2 separate regions of the Homo sapiens genome follow, and region 2 is linked to region 1. The links are contacts of gene promoters, found by promoter capture Hi-C in blood cells and fetal thymus (Javierre and others, 2016). All regions are on one chromosome and are shown on one strand. Each heading gives the region's core, a stretch centred on a gene start or on the middle of the fragment in contact. The rest is flanking DNA. Distances are from core to core; before and after follow the strand shown.

Evidence for each region. Contacts are between HindIII fragments. The CHiCAGO score rates a contact against its expected background, and 5 or more counts as called.
Region 2: a contact is called between a fragment that was not itself captured here and the fragment with the promoter of P4HA3 in region 1, in 4 of 17 cell types (M1 macrophages, megakaryocytes, M0 macrophages and 1 more). The highest score is 9.0, in M1 macrophages.

What each region holds. Positions count from the first base shown.
Region 1 is chr11:74,307,372-74,312,976 of GRCh38, reverse strand. It overlaps P4HA3 (prolyl 4-hydroxylase subunit alpha 3), which reads left to right and starts at 1,337. Exons shown (of 13, transcript NM_182904.5): 1 at 1,337-1,565. The coding sequence starts at 1,366. P4HA3-AS1 (P4HA3 antisense RNA 1) reads right to left here and starts at 1,615. Exons shown (of 7, transcript NR_120556.1): 1 at 1,528-1,615; 2 at 1,031-1,152; 3 at 758-858. The HindIII fragment of the contact is 4,256 bases long and covers 1-3,372 here.
Region 2 is chr11:74,568,284-74,573,857 of GRCh38, reverse strand. No RefSeq gene overlaps it. Among named protein-coding and RNA genes, the nearest start is that of POLD3, 22 kb to the left of the region's middle. The HindIII fragment of the contact is 192 bases long and covers 2,138-2,329 here.

The DNA.
Region 1 (5,605 bases), core at 88-2,587:
TCTGGACAGCGATTAAATGAGTTAATATATGTAAAATACTCTGGATGGCGACTGCCACACAGGAAACACCCGGTAAGTATTAACTACTATGTTTACTGTTGCCATTGTTATTACAATTATTGCTACCTTAAAAACTTCCACTGGATTTTCATAGAGGACAAGCACCTAAATTTCTTAGTATGACATGCAAAGACCTTTCACAATCTGATAGTTTCAAGCACAAGAAACTTTTCATCATTTCTGGAACTCAAACTGTTTTCCACCTCCAAACCTTGTCACGCCCATGTACCTTCTGCCAGGAAAGCCCACTCCTCCCTTGCCTGTCAACTTCCAATTTTTTTCATCCTTTTGAACCAGCACCCATCACCTCCTCTCTGATGCCCTCTCCACCCACTACATGAGGGTTCCTTCTTCAGTGTTGCCATTGCATATTGCACAACCCTCAGTTACTCTGACAGCACTTTATTGTGATTACTTGTTTACATAACTGTCTCCTCCTTTGAGTCCAGGATTGGATCTGCTATTTCTCTGTGTAGGCAGCACAGTAACACAGGTACTAATAAATATTTGTTGCATGAATGAACATTGCCTGGGAAATGCATAAGAGGGGGGAAATAGAGTACATAGCCTAGTAGGCTATAATAATAATAATAATATTTTTATTTGCTTAAGTGACTCTAAGTATATTGTGTAAAGCAGTGACTTTAGGACCCCAGAGCTTCAGGTTCTGTAAGTCCTAGATTTGTCATATACTCACATCCTGACACAGTCCTACTTATCCTTCAGATGGCTCAGATGTCACGCTCTCTGTGAGGGTTTTCCTCCCAGCTGTCCTCTTGCCGCTCTTTGCCTGCGCACCTATTCACATACGCATAATTGACTCTTCTGGACGTCCCTGTGGGGATCCAGTGGTGTTTGTGTATTCCCACTCCATGGTACAGAGGGGCGGATATTTTGGGGATCCTGTGAGCGTGGTGTTAACAATATTTGGGGATAGTCACAGCCTTAGACCTGTGAATTCATCGCTCACCCTGCCTCCGCCTCAATTTCCCCTAGTGTGATGGGCACAGTGGAAACACCTTCCCAGGGTCGCGATTTAGTGGAGGGCGGCGGAGACTGATGTTGCAGGAAGCCCCCACGCATTCCGAGGAGCTGAGGAATAGAGAGCGAGGTGAGGCGTCGAAACAAGGAAGGAGTCAGGGGGCGTGGAGCGAGACTGGGCGGTGGACGGGACGGGCCGGGCCGGGGCCAGAGGGCGGGGCCTGAGCCGGGAGGGGGCGGAGACAGGGGCGGGGCAGGCGAGGGCGGGAGCGGCTGCCGCCGCGCGGCCAGGACTGTCTGAGGGGAAGTTCGCGAGCGCTGGCTATGGGTCCTGGGGCGCGGCTGGCGGCGCTGCTGGCGGTGCTGGCGCTCGGGACAGGAGACCCAGAAAGGGCTGCGGCTCGGGGCGACACGTTCTCGGCGCTGACCAGCGTGGCGCGCGCCCTGGCGCCCGAGCGCCGGCTGCTGGGGCTGCTGAGGCGGTACCTGCGCGGGGAGGAGGCGCGGCTGCGGGACCTGACTAGGTGAGGGCACGACGAGTGGGAGCGACCGAGGGGCCTCAGTGGGATACACTGTGCCGCAGGGTGGGGTGACTCAGGTTGAGTGTGACCCCAGGCTCATTGTCATGCTGCGTGGGACCCCAGACCCACTGTCGCACCGTGCGACTGAGACATTGTGGCATGGGGTGGGGAGTGGCTCTGAGGGCCAGTGTGACCCCCTAGACCCATTGTCACCCTGTGTGGGACCCTGACACTCCGTGGCATGAGGTGTTGGCGAGGGTTGGGTCACACTGGGACTGCAGACTCCATCACACACATAGTGGCACCCCCCATATCCAGCGTCACACAGCAAAGTTGATACACTGTGGAAGAGCGGGGCGGGGTGACTCTAGGACCTCACAATGTGCTGTGCAAAGCTGTGTGAGCCCCAGGCCCTGTGTCACACTGACACAGACACAGTGGACGGTGCTGTGACAGAGACACTGTGAGAGTGACATGGAGAGAATACGGTGACGCTTTAGCTACGCAAGTATTGACCTTTCAAGGGGGGATCGTGAAACACCGCATGACCTAGTGAGCTGATGTTTAGTGTTAGGAGTCAGGTGACAGTCTTCCACCATATGTGAGGTTTACATGTCATTGGGACTGGATGGGCACGACACTGTGGATATCATACTCTGCATGTGAATGATGCTGAGTAACTGTACAGGTCGCTATATGAATAATGCTTCAGTTCATTAATTCATACAACACATATTTTTGAGTGCCTACTAAGAGCCAGGCAGTGTTCCAGGCAGTGGGGATAAAATGGTGATCAAGAGCCAACTCTGCCCTCGAGGAGTTTGGGTCTGTAGCACCATGACTGTTAATCAGAGATGTCCACTGCCGTCTACGTCTTCAGTTCTTCCTTCTCTTTACACATGTAGAAGCTCTCTAAATACTAAATAAATGATAACTGAGATGTTATATGTGTGTCAACATATTTGATATCAAAAAAGCACTGTGAAAAAACATACTTGATGCAGAAGATACTGAGTGTAGCACACAGCAGTGGATGCTCAGCTAATATAGTTTTGGGGTACAGTCAACAAACTCTAGTGCTACACACTGTGGCATAAAAGGTTGTCAGACTTGGGATGCTGAGGCACCATAGTCATGTATCGACTTAGCAGTGTCCAACTGACAAAAATGAAAGATAAATGATTGTATATGATACCATCTGTATGAATATGTGCTGCGCCTTCTCTGCCTGGGACATCAAGAAGCCTACAACACTGACAGAGTGGTTATGACCACGTCACTATTTGGATATATTAATATTGTACTTATATCATGTGACCTTATCATTGAGCAAAGACAGCACAATGCACTGCTTTTAAAACTTTGCGTGAGTGTGTGTGGTAATAATACTGATTCTGGGGTGACATGAGAAGAAGGTATGTGGAATGGGGAGTGACTCTGAGGTCCAGTGTGACCCCCAAACCCATTGTCACCCTGTGCGAAACTTTGTGACCCCATGACTGTGAGAGAGAGCTATGTAGAAGAGAAGCATTTTGTGGGTGGAAAGTATTTGCGAGAGATCTTGTTAATAGTGACTGAATGAGCTAATGTGGTGCTTGTCCTTAAGTATGTGGCTTGCGTATAAACAGCTTGAAATAGTGTGACAATATACAATATAGGTATGTATTAATTTTAACAATAAATGAAGATCATTTCAATAATTATTGTCACTCTTTGGAATAGCATAGTTGTCTAGTATTCTATGGGTCCATGTTGACCGAGCCAAATGTTTTCTTTTTGTTCATAGCCCAGAGTCATTGGAGTCCAAGCTTATTAGTGGAAATAGGACAGAATTTTTTCTCTTTGATTTCAGAGCCCAGCATTCTCCCTGCTACCCATGCTTGTTCTCATACCAGTAATCTCTTTGGGTAGCTCAGATGGAGACGGGAGTGGGGGGTCAAAATCCCCCTGCTGGTCTTTCAGGTTACATTCTCAGAAGAGAGCACTTGAAGCATTTTGGCCAAAGCAGCTGGCCAACCCCATTCCACCATGCTGGTCTCCTTCACTGTCTTTCCACCACTGTCATTATCACAACTTTGTCACAGCAGGAGGTCTCATACAAACCATATCTCATCTGATTCTCTCTCACACACAATGCTTTGAAATAGATTTGTATTACACTTGTTAACTATTGAGAAATCAGTTAAAACATGAGAAAACTAAAGTCTAGTTGCTCACTCAAGATTGTATTAATAAATCTAATAGGTAGCAAATCCAGGACTAGGACACAGTTGTTTTGATTGTTTATCCAACTTTTTTCCTACTATGCTATGTTATCCCTACCACTTCTTTTATCTGTTATACCAAGACATAGACCAAGCCCCTAACTAATTGAGGTTTTACTAGTGGCCACAGTACATGGTGGTTAACAGTGAATTCAGGAGTTTAACAGACCTCTATTTGAATCGTTGGCTCTGATCTTGGACAAGTTACTTTACCTCTTTGAGCTTTAGTTTCCTAATCTGTAAAATGATGATAAAAATAGTACCTACCACCATAGGGTTTTTGGAAGGATTAAGAGTACCATGTAAAAGTTTTTATCATTGTACCTGGCATGTAACAATTGATGGACAAATGCTAAGCCTTTATGCTTATTATTTTATTTTATTTTATTTTAAGACCATCTAGTGAAACTAGGCCCCACTTTTGGCTCTAAGTATTAACTAGGATTGTGACAGCCTAGATAAAAAAACAAATCAGAAAAGTTCTCAATTATTTTCTCAGGTGACTTATGAACAGTTAATTTTGTAGTTTAGTTTGATATTTTGAAGACTGTCATTCTGTCATTCTGTTCTCTAGTGACTGCTCTAAAACCCAGTGAAATGTTTGCTTTTTAAGAGACAGGGTCTTGCTCTGTCACCCAGGCTAGAGTGCAGTGGCTCTATCATAGCTCACTATAACCTCAAACCCCTGGCTCAAGTGATCCTTCTGCCTAAGCCTACCAAGTAACTAGGACTACGGGTGCACACCACCATGCCTGGCTAGGGTTTTTTTGTTTTTGTTTTTGTTTGGTTTGGTTTGATTTGGTAGAGACGGGGTCTTGCTCTCTTGCCCAGACTGGTCTTGAACTCCTGACCTGAAGTGATCCTCCCTCCTCGGGCTCCCAAAGTGTTGGGATTGCAAGCATGAGCTACCGTGCCCAGCCTTTATGTTTGCCTTTTAAAACAAGAATTTTGGCAGTTCTTGCTAATTTTTCTATACTCCCAATCTGGTGATTTTATGTAACTTGAGAGGCTATTTCCAAGGCTCTCAGTTGAGATAGAAAAATGCAGTATTCTTGAGGTTGAAACTACTCCCTACTCCAAGTTAATGAATAAAAATTATACTTGTTATAGTATATATAGTTATATGCCAGTATGGTACATATACTAGTTATATATATAAAAAGAGTTTATCCTAGCTTTTGTTGTTGCTGTTTTTGCAGTTTAAAACACCACCAAGAGTGAGAGAGAAGTGTCAGCAGCAATTTTTTCTGTGCTAAGGATTAAGCATTAATAATGTCCCAGAAGAACTGATACAAAACCATTTCTGAATTCCAAAGGCAAAACATATTGAAGTGAAATAGCCCATGTATTGTGGTTGGATAACCTGCCCAGGCTATGTTTAATGCAGGGATTGGGTTGCAAATTTTATGTGCAGATTCTTGAAGGAAAGGATCTGATTTTCCATTCTCAGCAGTATTTGTTAAAGCAAAAAGACATTTAGGAAACCCTGAGGTTTGAATTCAGCATCCAGTAACTCAGTTTCCAGTCTCTGGAAACCGCTATGTGCTCAGAGGCTGGGCATAGGGCCAACTTTTGGATTCTAAGCCAACCTCAGTTATCAGTTGAGAGATTTTTTTTCTTTGTGTGACAGAAAAATGGCATATCTAAACACTGGATTGAATTGATGTGCTGCAATAGAGATCAAACCCTGACCTAAACAAATCAACCCCAAAATGCAAAGAGGGGTGCTAAGAAAACAAGGAAGTAGACAGCACTTTTGATTTGATGCATGACTTGGGG
Region 2 (5,574 bases), core at 984-3,483, 260 kb before region 1:
AATGAGTCAGGCATAGTAGCGTGTGCCTGTGGTCCCAGCTACAGGGGAGGCTGAGGTGGGAGGTTCACTTAAACCCAGGAATTTGAGGCTTCAGTAAGCTGTGACCACGCCACTGTACTCCAGCCTAGGTGACAGAGCAAGACCCTGTCCCAAAAAAAGAGATCAAGTTTGAGCTTCTTACCACCTCAACTTCACCTCTCACCCCTAGCTGCTTCTTACCTATGCTCCAGCAACACAGACTGCTGATAAGTCCAGGTACATACCGTGTTATTTCCCACAAGTCTTTGCATCTGCTGTGCTCTCTTCAGAAGTATCCTCCTCAGTGTCCTCAGCCATAAAGAAGGCAGGTATCTTCTCTGCCAGGCTAGTTTAGGGCTCCTTTCCTTTGCTGTCATAACCCTTTGAGGTTCTATCATGCTAGATTACAGTGTCAGGTTGAATTTTTTTTTTTTAACTAGGCGAGTTTCTTAAGAAAAGGAATATTGTGTTATTTATTTCTGTATTCTCAGTGTCCAGGACCTATGTAATAATTGGTGTTCAATAAATGTTTGCTTAAAAAGGGAATAAATAAATGAATGAGTGATTCAGTCATTTGAAAAGTCTTTAGTGAGTGCCTACCATGTGTTTAGTATAATGCTAGCCACCACCGTGGCCACAAAAGAAATAAAAGACCTATAATACGTCCTTAAGGGCCGGGTGCAGTGGCTCACACCTGTAATCCCAGCACTTTGGGAGGCCAAGGCAGGCGGATCATGAGGTCAGGAGTTTAAGACTAGCCTGGCCAATATGGCAAAACCCTGTCTCTACTAAAAACACAAAAATTAGCCAGGCGTTGGTGGCACGTGCCTATAGTCCCAGCTACTCGGGCGGCTGAGGTAGAAAAATTGCTTGAACCCGGGAGATGGAGGTTGCAGTGAGCCAAGATCGCGCCACTGCACTCCAGCCTAGGCAACAGAGTGAGAGTCCATCTCAAAAAAAAAAAAAAAAAAAAGTCCTTAAGGAATTTTAGTTGGGAAAACAAGACCTGCTCAGGAAAACGGATTATAGAACAATGCAATAAAGAATCAAGTTGCTGAAGAGCACTGCACACACAGATCTCTGTTCAGATTCTGGCTGTATGATCATGTGCAAGCCCCCTAAGCTCTCTAGGCTTCAGTTTCCTCATCTGGAAAATGGAGATAATTACCAGATGTGTTGAGTTCGAGGTACTATTGGCATACAGTACTAATCATTAAACAATGCCACTCCTCTGGACAATATTTTATAGAAGTTCACAAAGCTGATTCACGTCAAAGCTGATTCACATTCTTTATCTCATGTGATCAACCCTGTGAAACAGGGATTATAGCATAGCATTTATGGCAGATTGTAAAAATGACCACAGATTATCCCCTTCCCTCTACCCACACCTTTTGAAAGTGCTTTTGCACTCTGAGTCTGGTTTGGCTTTGCGATGACTTGAAACATGCTTGAGCACGGAGGCTTGTCTGCTCTCTCTTTTTTTTTTTTGAGATGGAGTCTCGCTTTGTCACCTAGGCTGGAGTGCAGTGGCGTGATCTCAGCTCACTGCAACCTCTGCCTCCCGGGTTCATGCGATTCTTCTGTCTCAGTCTCCTGAGTAGCTGGGATTACAGGCATGCACCACCACACCCAGCTAATTTTTGTATTTTTAGTAGAGACGGGGTTTCATCATATTGGCCAGGCTGGTCTTGAACTCCTGATCTCATGATCCTCCCACCTCAGCCTCCCAAAGTGCTGGGATTACAGGTGTGAGCCACTGCATCTGGCCTGTCTTCTCTTGTTAAACTTGGAATCTTTAGCCCGCCAAGTCAATGAGCCTAAGCTAGCCTGCTGGAAGATGAGAGGCTATATGGAGGAGCATCAGGGTGCTCCAGCCAACTGCCAGTCACCAAATATGTGATTGAGCCAACTTACCAGCTATCCACAGACCCATGCATGTGGGAATCCAGCATAGATCAGCTAAATTGGCCAAGATCAAAACTGTGACCTGTATAAATATACTGTACCTTAGAACTGTGAACTAAACAAAATGATTGTTGTTTTAAGCCACTGTGTTTCAGGGTGGGTCATTTTATAGCAAAAGCTCACTGAGACAGAGATCCAGAGCAGTAAAGCTTTGGAGCTAAGCAGTCTGAGTTGGAAAGACAGCTTCTCCCACTTTCTAGCTATATGGCCTTGGGCAAGCCACTCAATTTCTCAGAGCTTCAGTGTCCTCATTTGAATAATGGGGGTAATGGTAGTGCCCATTTCCTGGGGTTGCAAGAATTCAATAAGATGATAGATGTCTGACATTAGCTTGTATGAAGCTTGGCTCAGCCTAAAGGGAGCTGTTGTTGCCATTGCTCCATTGTTCAGATGAGTAAACTGAAGATGAGAAAACTAAACTCCCAGGTGTTTGGTCACTTTCCCCAAGGTCAGTCAGCCAGAAAATGACTGAACTTGGGACTCACAGTCAAGACTTCTTAATTCCTACCAAGTGTAGGATTCCTAATAAGACTAGTGGGGTGACTGGCAGGGGGTGGGGAGGGACATTTATTGTCTACCTGGTGACAAATTTCCTTGTGTCCTGATTTCAGTAGGAAGCCAAAATAGGCTGGAGGTAATGAATAATCAAACTGAAGTTCTACGAAGATTAGTTGGTAGCACAAAGTACAACTCACTGGCAGGCACTGGCAGTTCCAGCCCTTCATTCTCTGAATCCAATGTCTTATCAAGTCGGATTTTCTTGTACTGTTTCTCAAATCCACTCATTTCTCTCTCTTTTTTTTTTTTTTTTACCTCAGCCCTTGCCCCTGTTCCTGGAGCTGTGCAATGGCTTCCAGCTTTCTTGGCGACTCCCACCGCAATCCTCTTTCCTCTCCTCTCGTCCTTCTCCAGCCACACTTTTAGCTCTGTGGCAACACATGCCTGATGCCTACCAGAGGTCAGATTCAGCTTGTGGGCTTTACCTTGGAGCCGGCTTCATGGTTTCCAGGTATTGGGATATAAGGCCTCCATGTGCCTGACACCCCAACCATCAAATTAGGATATTGGAGATGTCCCCAGCAAAGACTTTCAGAGCTGACCCTTTATAAGGGTGGCACCTAAATCCTACTGAAGGCCTGTAGGTACATACCATCAGTGAGCAGCAGATGGCAGAGTCACCTCTCCTTTTGCTATCTCCCATTAGGAGTTATTGCCGCTCCTTCCTCCATGAAGAATAACAATAAAGATAGGACCTCAATACACAATTAGAAAACGCTCTGTATGAAAAAGTTTAATTGAATTAATTGCCCAAATTTAAAGAATAAGGGATGTCCTAGTAAAATCATATTTCAGGCTTTTAAAAAATCCAAATATCTTGTGCTCTACCATGGTGAGCCTTGGTCCTTATCATTCCCTGTGTTCTCCCAACACTGAGGCCAAGTTATTTTTGCCATTGATCAAGGTGGTTGTACTATTATTTTTCTTAAAACTTTTTTTTTTTTTTGAGACAGGGTCTCACTCTGCCACCCAGGCTGGCGTGCAGTGACACAATCACAGCTTACTGCAACCTCCATCTCTTGGGTTCACGCTATCTTCCCACCTCAGCCTCCTGAGTAGCTGGGACTACAGGCACGTGCCACCATACCAGCTAAGGTTCATATTTTTTGTAGAGGCAGGGGTCTCCCTATGTTGCCCAGGCTGGTCTTCAACTCCTGGGCTCAAGTGATCCACCTGCCTCGGCCTCCCAAAGTGCTGAGATTATCGGCGTGAACAACTGCACCTGGCCTAAACATTTTTTTTAATGTGTGAAATATTTATTGATCATGTCTTTAACAAAAGTAAGAAAATTCTGGGCATGGTGGCTCATGCCTGTAATCCCAGCACTTTGGGAGGCTGATGGGGGTGGATCACTTGAGGCCAGGAGTTTGAGACCAGCCTGGGCAACATAGCAAGACCCTGTCTGTACAAAAAATTACAAAAATTAGCTGGAAGTGGTGGCACATGCCTATAGGTCCAGCTACACAGGAGAAGGAGGTAGAAGGGTTGCTTGAGCCCAGGAGGTTGAGGCTGCAGTGAGCCAAGATAGCACCACTACACTCTGGCCTGGGCAATAGAGTGAGACCCCATCTCAAAAAAAAAAGGAGGTGATAAATTATAAGTGAATAAAATGTAATTGAATAAATGAAACGGAGGTTGTAGGCATTTGAGCTTGTCCCCTCTAATCCAACCGCTCTCCCTGCCTAGCCTCCAATCTCCAACTCCTGCTTTTTTGTATGAGATAGCTGAGACCCAGAGACACAGAATAAATTGTCCAAGGTCACAAAGGTAGGAAGTGGCAAAGCCAGGAGCAGAAATCATGTCTTTGGACTCTGTCTCCCCTGCTTCTTCCATATATCCTATGACCACAGAGCTTAACAAACAGTTGTTGAATTGATGACAGGAGGCCTAGTGTAGGGGGAAGAACATTAAGTTGGCATAAGGAGTTCTAGATTCTAGTCTTAACTGTACCACTGACTGGCTGTGTGACCTTAAGCAAGTCACTTTCCTTCTCTGGATCTCATTCTCTACATCAATGTATAAGGAAGATTAAATTCAGCACTGAAGGTTAACTGGGAAGTGTGTCACATTAGCCAATTATAGCCCTTTTGTTCTGGGACTAAGAACTGGGCCCCAGAGAAAATAGTTAAGTCCTCATGTCTTTTAACAAAAGTAAGAAAATTCTGGGCGTGGTGGCTCATGCCTGTAATCCCAGCACTTTGGGAGGCTGATGGGGGTGGATCACTTGAGGCCAGGAGTTTGAGACCAGCCTGGGCAACACAGCAAGACCATGTCTGTACAAAAAATTACAAAAATTAGCTGCAAGTGAATCCAGCTAACAGAAATCAATATTGTCTTATTTGAATAAGAAAAAAATTTAAGATAATTTTCTGTAACTCATGGAGTCACCAGAAAGCCTGAAGAATTAGAGTCAACAAATGGGCAGAAAATGAAAACATATGCCCACACAGAAGCTTGTGTATGAATGTTTATAGCAGCATTGTTCGTAATAGCCAAGACATGGAAATAACCCAAATGTCTGTCAACAAATGAATGGATAAACAAAACATGGTATACAATAGAATATGATTCAGCCATAAAAAGGAATGAAGTACTGATACATGCCACAACATAGATGGACCTTGAAAACATCATGCTAAATAAAATAAGACAGTTGCAAATGGCTACATGCTATATGATTCCATTCATGTGAAAGTCCAGAATAGGGAAATTTGTACATCAGTAGTTGCTCAGGGCTGGGGAGGGGTGGGGGTGTGGGTGGGGGTAGGAAATGATAGTTAAAGCATATGGATTTTTTTTGAGGTAATAAAAATTGGCTATGGTGATAGTCTCCCATATTTGTAAATACACTAAAAGTCATGGAATTTGACACTTTAAAAGGGCAAATTGTAATACATGTAATAGCAAAAACTGCAATTATTTTTGCACCAACCTAATATTTCAATAAAGCTGTTTAAAAAATGGCAGAGACTAAAGGAGCCAAGACAGGTATTACCTTAGCCCAAATCCTGCTATGGAGCCAATTCAGTA